Regions from separate parts of the Homo sapiens genome. Here region 2 is linked to region 1. Evidence: promoter capture Hi-C in 16 types of primary human blood cells and fetal thymus (Javierre and others, 2016). All regions are on one chromosome and are shown on one strand. The core of a region is centred on a gene start or on the middle of the fragment in contact, and the rest is flanking DNA. Distances in the headings are between cores, read along the strand shown.

Region 1 (2,719 bases), core at 127-2,626:
AACAGGACCTTCCCTGTATCTGTTAGGCTCTGCTCTTTGGGCAGGAGGATGGCAACACAGGGTGTAAGTACAAAGAGGTCTTATTACTGTCATTATTATATATCATTACTCCCGTAAGAATCTATTATTAACATGTTGATGAATAGACCTTTAAGAAACTGTGGGCCTGGAGGAACTGATCAAGATGGGGACAGAATGAGGACCTAAGAGAGCCCTCTTCCAGTGCCTGGCTTAATCTCAGGGCCCCCATCATTCTCTAAAGGGAATAAGAGTGGGGAGAGGGGAGGAAGAACATTTCTTGAGACTCAAGAGTTGTCAGGTCCTGTCTTGGGTCTTTCACAAATGTTATCCAACTTATTCATCAGGACAACCCCATGAGATGAGAATAAATTAATCCTCCTATTCGACAGATGAGGAAATTGACGGAGGTCAGTAAAGTTGCCCCAGGTGGGCAGGACACAGCCAACAAGGGAGAAGAGGTTTGAACTCAACTCTGCAAAGCTCTTGTGTTTACACAATATTCTAGCCAGAACAGAAAGAGACCTCTCCCTCTGCGTTCCCCTCCAGCTCTGTATGCGGGAGAAGTCCATTCTTGGGGAAGGCCGAGGGAGGACAGAATCTGCGGAGCGGAAGGAGCAAGGTTGGAGCTGCGCTTACACCTGGGACTGGCTGTGCCATCGGTCCAGCGTCGGCGCCTGCAAGTGTGCGGTGGAGAGGACTGCAGACAGTGGCATCCCCAGGTCACGGAGGGGGTCCCTCCTCCCCCACTACGAGGAGGGCATGAATGACCTCAAGCCTCAGCTCTCCTTTGTTGGCACTGGCTACTCTCTACAGGCCTCCCCGCGCAATGCATGGGGGTAGGAGTAGGAGCAGGTGAACTGTCCAAGCAGAGGCAGCGATGGACAGCCTCTCTTGGGTGCTGCACAGAGAAATCGGGCGATGGAGGAGGAACCCAACATGGGCTTGATGCAGAGGCTGGGGGCCCCATGGCGTGCCAAGTAACCAGCAGCTGTCTGACGCCTAACATGCAACTGGTGCCACTGCGCGTTCGCCAAGCAAGCCCACCCCCTTGCTAGCAGCGCGCTCTCCAATCGAGGAGATGCGCCTTCCCCCTCCCTTCCCCGCCATCTCCCCCTTCATTCAAGGCCTGGGGGAGCTGCGGTTCCGAGAAGCGGCAGACGGCAGCCAGAAGGCTTGGGCTGTTGAGTAAGCAGCCCCCTCTCAGTCCCGGCCCTCCCCGCCCCGCGCCCTGCGCCTCCAGTGAGTGACTGAGCCCCCGCTGCGGCCCCGCCCCCGGGGCCCTGCCGGAGCTGGTGCGCGGCGCGGAGGGGAGGGCCGGCCAGGGTAGGAATGCGCTGCGGGCGGGCGGCGCAGGAGGCGAGCGGCGGAACATGTAAGGGCACATCCCGCGAGCTGCCGCCCAGCGCGCAGACAGAGCCCAGGGGAGCAAGAGAACGGGCGGGCGGTGGGGCTCACGGCCTAGGGAGGCGCGGAGGCATCTGGCAGAGGCGGGTCGGGCTGGGCCAGCTGGGGTAGAGCGGAGGAGCGGGTGCCGGCTGAAGCGGGGCGGTGGGCGCGGAGCGCGCTGGGGGCACCGACACCACCTCACCGGCAGCCGGGTGCTGAGGGCCGCGGTGTGGGTGCGCGGAGCAGTCAGGGCGCAGGTGGGCAGCGCGCACGGCCTGCCAGCCCGGGGCGCCAGAATCCTGCGCTGCGGGGCCGAGAGGGGCGCCGCGCCCGCCGCAGCCTGGAGCTTTCCGCGAACCTCGGGGCGCCCATGACGGCGGCGGCGACGGCTACCGTGCTCAAGGAGGGCGTGCTGGAGAAGCGCAGCGGCGGGCTGCTGCAGCTGTGGAAGCGGAAGCGCTGCGTCCTCACCGAACGCGGGCTGCAGCTCTTCGAGGCCAAGGGCACGGGCGGCCGGCCCAAGGAGCTCAGCTTCGCCCGCATCAAGGCCGTGGAGTGCGTGGAGAGCACCGGGCGCCACATCTACTTCACGCTGGTGACCGAAGGGGGCGGCGAGATCGACTTCCGCTGCCCCCTGGAAGATCCCGGCTGGAACGCCCAGATCACCCTAGGCCTGGTCAAGTTCAAGAACCAGCAGGCCATCCAGACAGTGCGGGCCCGGCAGAGCCTCGGGACCGGGACCCTCGTGTCCTAAACCACCGGGCGCACCATCTTTCCTTCATGCTACCCACCACCTCAGTGCTGAGGTCAAGGCAGGTAAGCCCCCGGGGGACTGGGCCCTCTTCTCTCCTTCCCTCCCTTCTCTTTCCCCTACAGAGAGAATGAGGACTAGCATTCTACTTCAGAGCCGGACATCTTAGGGGGGAGGTTCCTGGGGCCAACTGAGGGCATGGGAGGCTTGGGCCAGTGGCCAACCCAGCAGATCCGGACTTTCCCCTGAGGCACCAGGTTGGCCGGTCCAGAATGTGATCCAGGTGTGTGAGAGGAAGATGGAAGCCCTGGGAGGGGGATACCTGGGTGAGATGAGCCTTCTTTCAAGTTGGTTCAGCCCTGACTCAGGTGGAAGGAAGTAGAGGGAGGTTGGCCTGCACATTGCCCCAGGCTGTGGGCCTCTGCTTTCCACGCAGAGCAGGGCTCCTGGACTTCGGCTTTCTGGCAGCTGAGGACAACCGAGGGTGGGGACGCGGATCGTGGAGGCCGACCCTCTTTCCCTCTAGGTTGAATGCTTGTCATAAAGTTTGAGCATTGAATT
Region 2 (2,719 bases), core at 143-2,642, 48 kb before region 1:
TGAAATGTTCAGGCCAGGCGCGGTGGCTCACACCTATAGTCCCAGCAGTTTGGGAGGCCTAGATGGGCTGATCACTTGAGTTCAGGAGTTTGAGACCAGCCTGGGCAGCAAGGCGAAACCCCATCTCTACAAAAAATACATAAAAATTAGCCAGACTTGGTGGCCTGCACCTGTAGTAGTCACAGCTACTGGGCAAGGGGGTAGAGGGTACTGAGGCAGGAGGATTGCTAGAGGCCAGGAAGTGGAGGCTGCAGTGAGCCGTGATTGCGCCACTGTGCTCCAGCCTGGGTGACAGAGCCAGGCCCTGTCTCAAAAAAAAAAAAAAAAAAAAAAAAATCGGAACAGGGAACAGGCAAATTTATAGAAACATAAAGTGGATAAGTACTTGTGTAACCACCCAATGGCTTCTCCTTGCCTGATACGCAGACAGAGCAGATTTATCAAGACAGGGGAATTGCAATGAAGAGTTTAATTTACAAAAACTTGGTGAAAGAGAGATAGAAGCTTTATTATTACTCAAACCAGTCTCCTGGAAAATTTGGAGACTGGAATTTTTAAGGATAATTTGGTGTGTAGGGGGCCAGGAAGTGGGGAATGCTGATTGGCTGGGTCAGCGATGAAATCATAGGGGGTCAAAGTGGGATTTTTCTTCCTGTCCTCTGTTCCTGGGTGAGATCCCAGAACTGGTTGAGCCAGATTACCGATCTGGGTGGGGCCAGCTGGTGCATCAGAATGCAGTGTGAAAAATGTCTGGAGCACTGATCTTAGGTTTTACAATAGTGATGTTATCTTTCGGAGCAATGGGGGAGGTTCAAAATCTCGTGGCCTGTCTGCATTAATCTTTTGAGACTGAGTCTCACTCTGTCGCCCAGGCTGGAATGCAGTGGCACGATCTTGGCTCACTGCAGCCTCCGCCTCCTGGGTTCAAGCGATTCTCCTGCCTCAGCCTCCCGAGTAGCTGGGACTACAGGCCCCCGCCACCACTCCCAGCTAATTTTTGTAATTTTAGTAGAGACAGGGTTTCACCATGTTGGGCAGGCTGGTCTCCAACTCCTGACCTCAGGTGATCTGCCCACCTCGGCCTCCCAAAGTGCTGGGATTACAGGCCTGAGCCACTGTGCGCCCGGACTGTCAGCATTAATCTTGAGGCTAATTTGTTAGTGCTACACAAGCAGTCTGGTCCCCAAGCAAGAAGGGGCTGTGTTAAGGGAAAAGGCTGTTTTCATCTTTGCTTCAAAGTTAAGTTATAAGCTGAATTCCTCCCAAAGTTAGTTTAGCCTCTGCCCAGGAATGAACAAGGGCAGCTTGGAGATTAGAAGCAAGATGGAGTCAATTAGGTCGGATCTCTTTCACTGTGATAATTTTCTCATTGCTGTAATTTTTGCAAAGACAGTTTCAGTTGCTAGGGATGTTGCAGGAAAAAGCAGGAGTGATTGCAAATGGGTACAGGCTTTCTTATTAGGTTAATAAAATGTTCTAAAATGGTCTGTGGCGATGATTGCAAAACTGTAAATATACCAAAAACCATTGAAATGTACACTTTAAAAGGGAAAATCATATGACATGTGAATTATATCTCTTTAAAAAAAAATGTTATCATATACCATATGTCTATGTGGGCTTCCAGCAACTCTTCTGGCGCTCCTGGAGTGGCCAGGTCAGGTATGACTAAGAATTCATGGTATGGCCTCTCTGTATTATCTGACTCTCCTCCCTCCCTCCCTCTCCCCCCCTCCCTCCTTTCTTTCCTTCCTTCCTTCCTTCCTTCCTTCCTTCCTTCCTTCCTTCCTTCCTTCCTTCCTTCCTTCCTTCCTCTCTCCTTTCCTTCCTTGCATGAACTAGATGCTACCCTAGGCACTGAGCATACAGATATTGACCAAGATCTAATCCTGTCCTCAAAGAGTTCACAACCTCATGATTGTCCTCAGCCCCCTGTAGCAAAGGAAACTTTTATTGGGACCACTTCTTTATACCCTGAGCTATGAAGAGTAAATCTAACCTTTCTAAAGTCACATACATCTGCACTTAGTGGGGGCTCAGGTGATGGAGCTCCAGTGCTCATAAGCAAGTGAAAAACATAAGGTAGATTTAATATCTTGTAGTTCTTTAGTCCTTCTCATTGCCAGGGTGGGTCACAGAATGCCCATAGTAAAGGAAGCCAAAGTCTCCTTCCTCTTTGGGTCTCAGGGTCCAGATATTGTGTAGCTGGAAGCTCACTACTGAGACACTCAGCAGCTGCCAGGCAGGCAAACTCCCTATTTCCCACACAGCCAAGCTTGACCACCATTATTCCTGGCTCGTGCACCCTTTCCTATAAAGTTGGTGGTTGACATGGAAGATCCTGGACATTCAGGTCATAGTGCCATCAAGGGCCTTGGGCTGTCAACCTCTGCTGTGGTCCTTGATCTCACTCCCTATTCATCTCTGTGAAGCTGCCTTCTAACCTGGGGCTGTGTCTTATCTCTGACCCAGCTCTTGCTCATGCATGATGACTGCTCCCTGCTTCCCTGTATTACCCCCAAATGATAGCTGTTATGCCTTGTGGTTGCTTGTGAAACTGCCTTTGCAAAATTATAACTGAGGAAATTATGACAGTAAAGAAATCAGACCTACCTAACCATTTTGCTTCTAACCTTTAAGCTGTCCTTGTTCATTCCTGGGCATAGGTGGAAATAACTTTGCCCTGAAGGAATTCAGTTCATGATTTGACTCTAAAACA

What was found. The method cuts DNA at HindIII sites, captures the fragments that hold promoters and counts their contacts. A CHiCAGO score of 5 or more calls a contact.
Region 2: a contact is called between a fragment that was not itself captured here and the fragment with the promoter of PHLDA3 in region 1, in 1 of 17 cell types (monocytes). The highest score is 5.0, in monocytes.

Annotation. Positions count from the first base shown.
Region 1 is chr1:201,467,845-201,470,563 of GRCh38, reverse strand. It overlaps PHLDA3 (pleckstrin homology like domain family A member 3), which reads left to right and starts at 1,376. Exons shown (of 2, transcript NM_012396.5): 1 at 1,376-2,223. The coding sequence starts at 1,778. The coding sequence ends at 2,161. RefSeq lists silencers at 1,107-1,336, 1,547-1,856 and enhancers at 1,357-1,476, 991-1,705, 1,927-2,066, 2,137-2,196. The HindIII fragment of the contact is 14,509 bases long and covers 1-2,719 here.
Region 2 is chr1:201,515,839-201,518,557 of GRCh38, reverse strand. The region is part of intron 1 of CSRP1-AS1 (CSRP1 antisense RNA 1); the gene reads right to left. The region is part of intron 1 of LOC124904484 (a long non-coding RNA gene); the gene reads left to right. Among named protein-coding and RNA genes, the nearest start is that of CSRP1-AS1, 10 kb to the right of the region's middle. RefSeq lists an enhancer at 1-207. The HindIII fragment of the contact is 1,771 bases long and covers 507-2,277 here.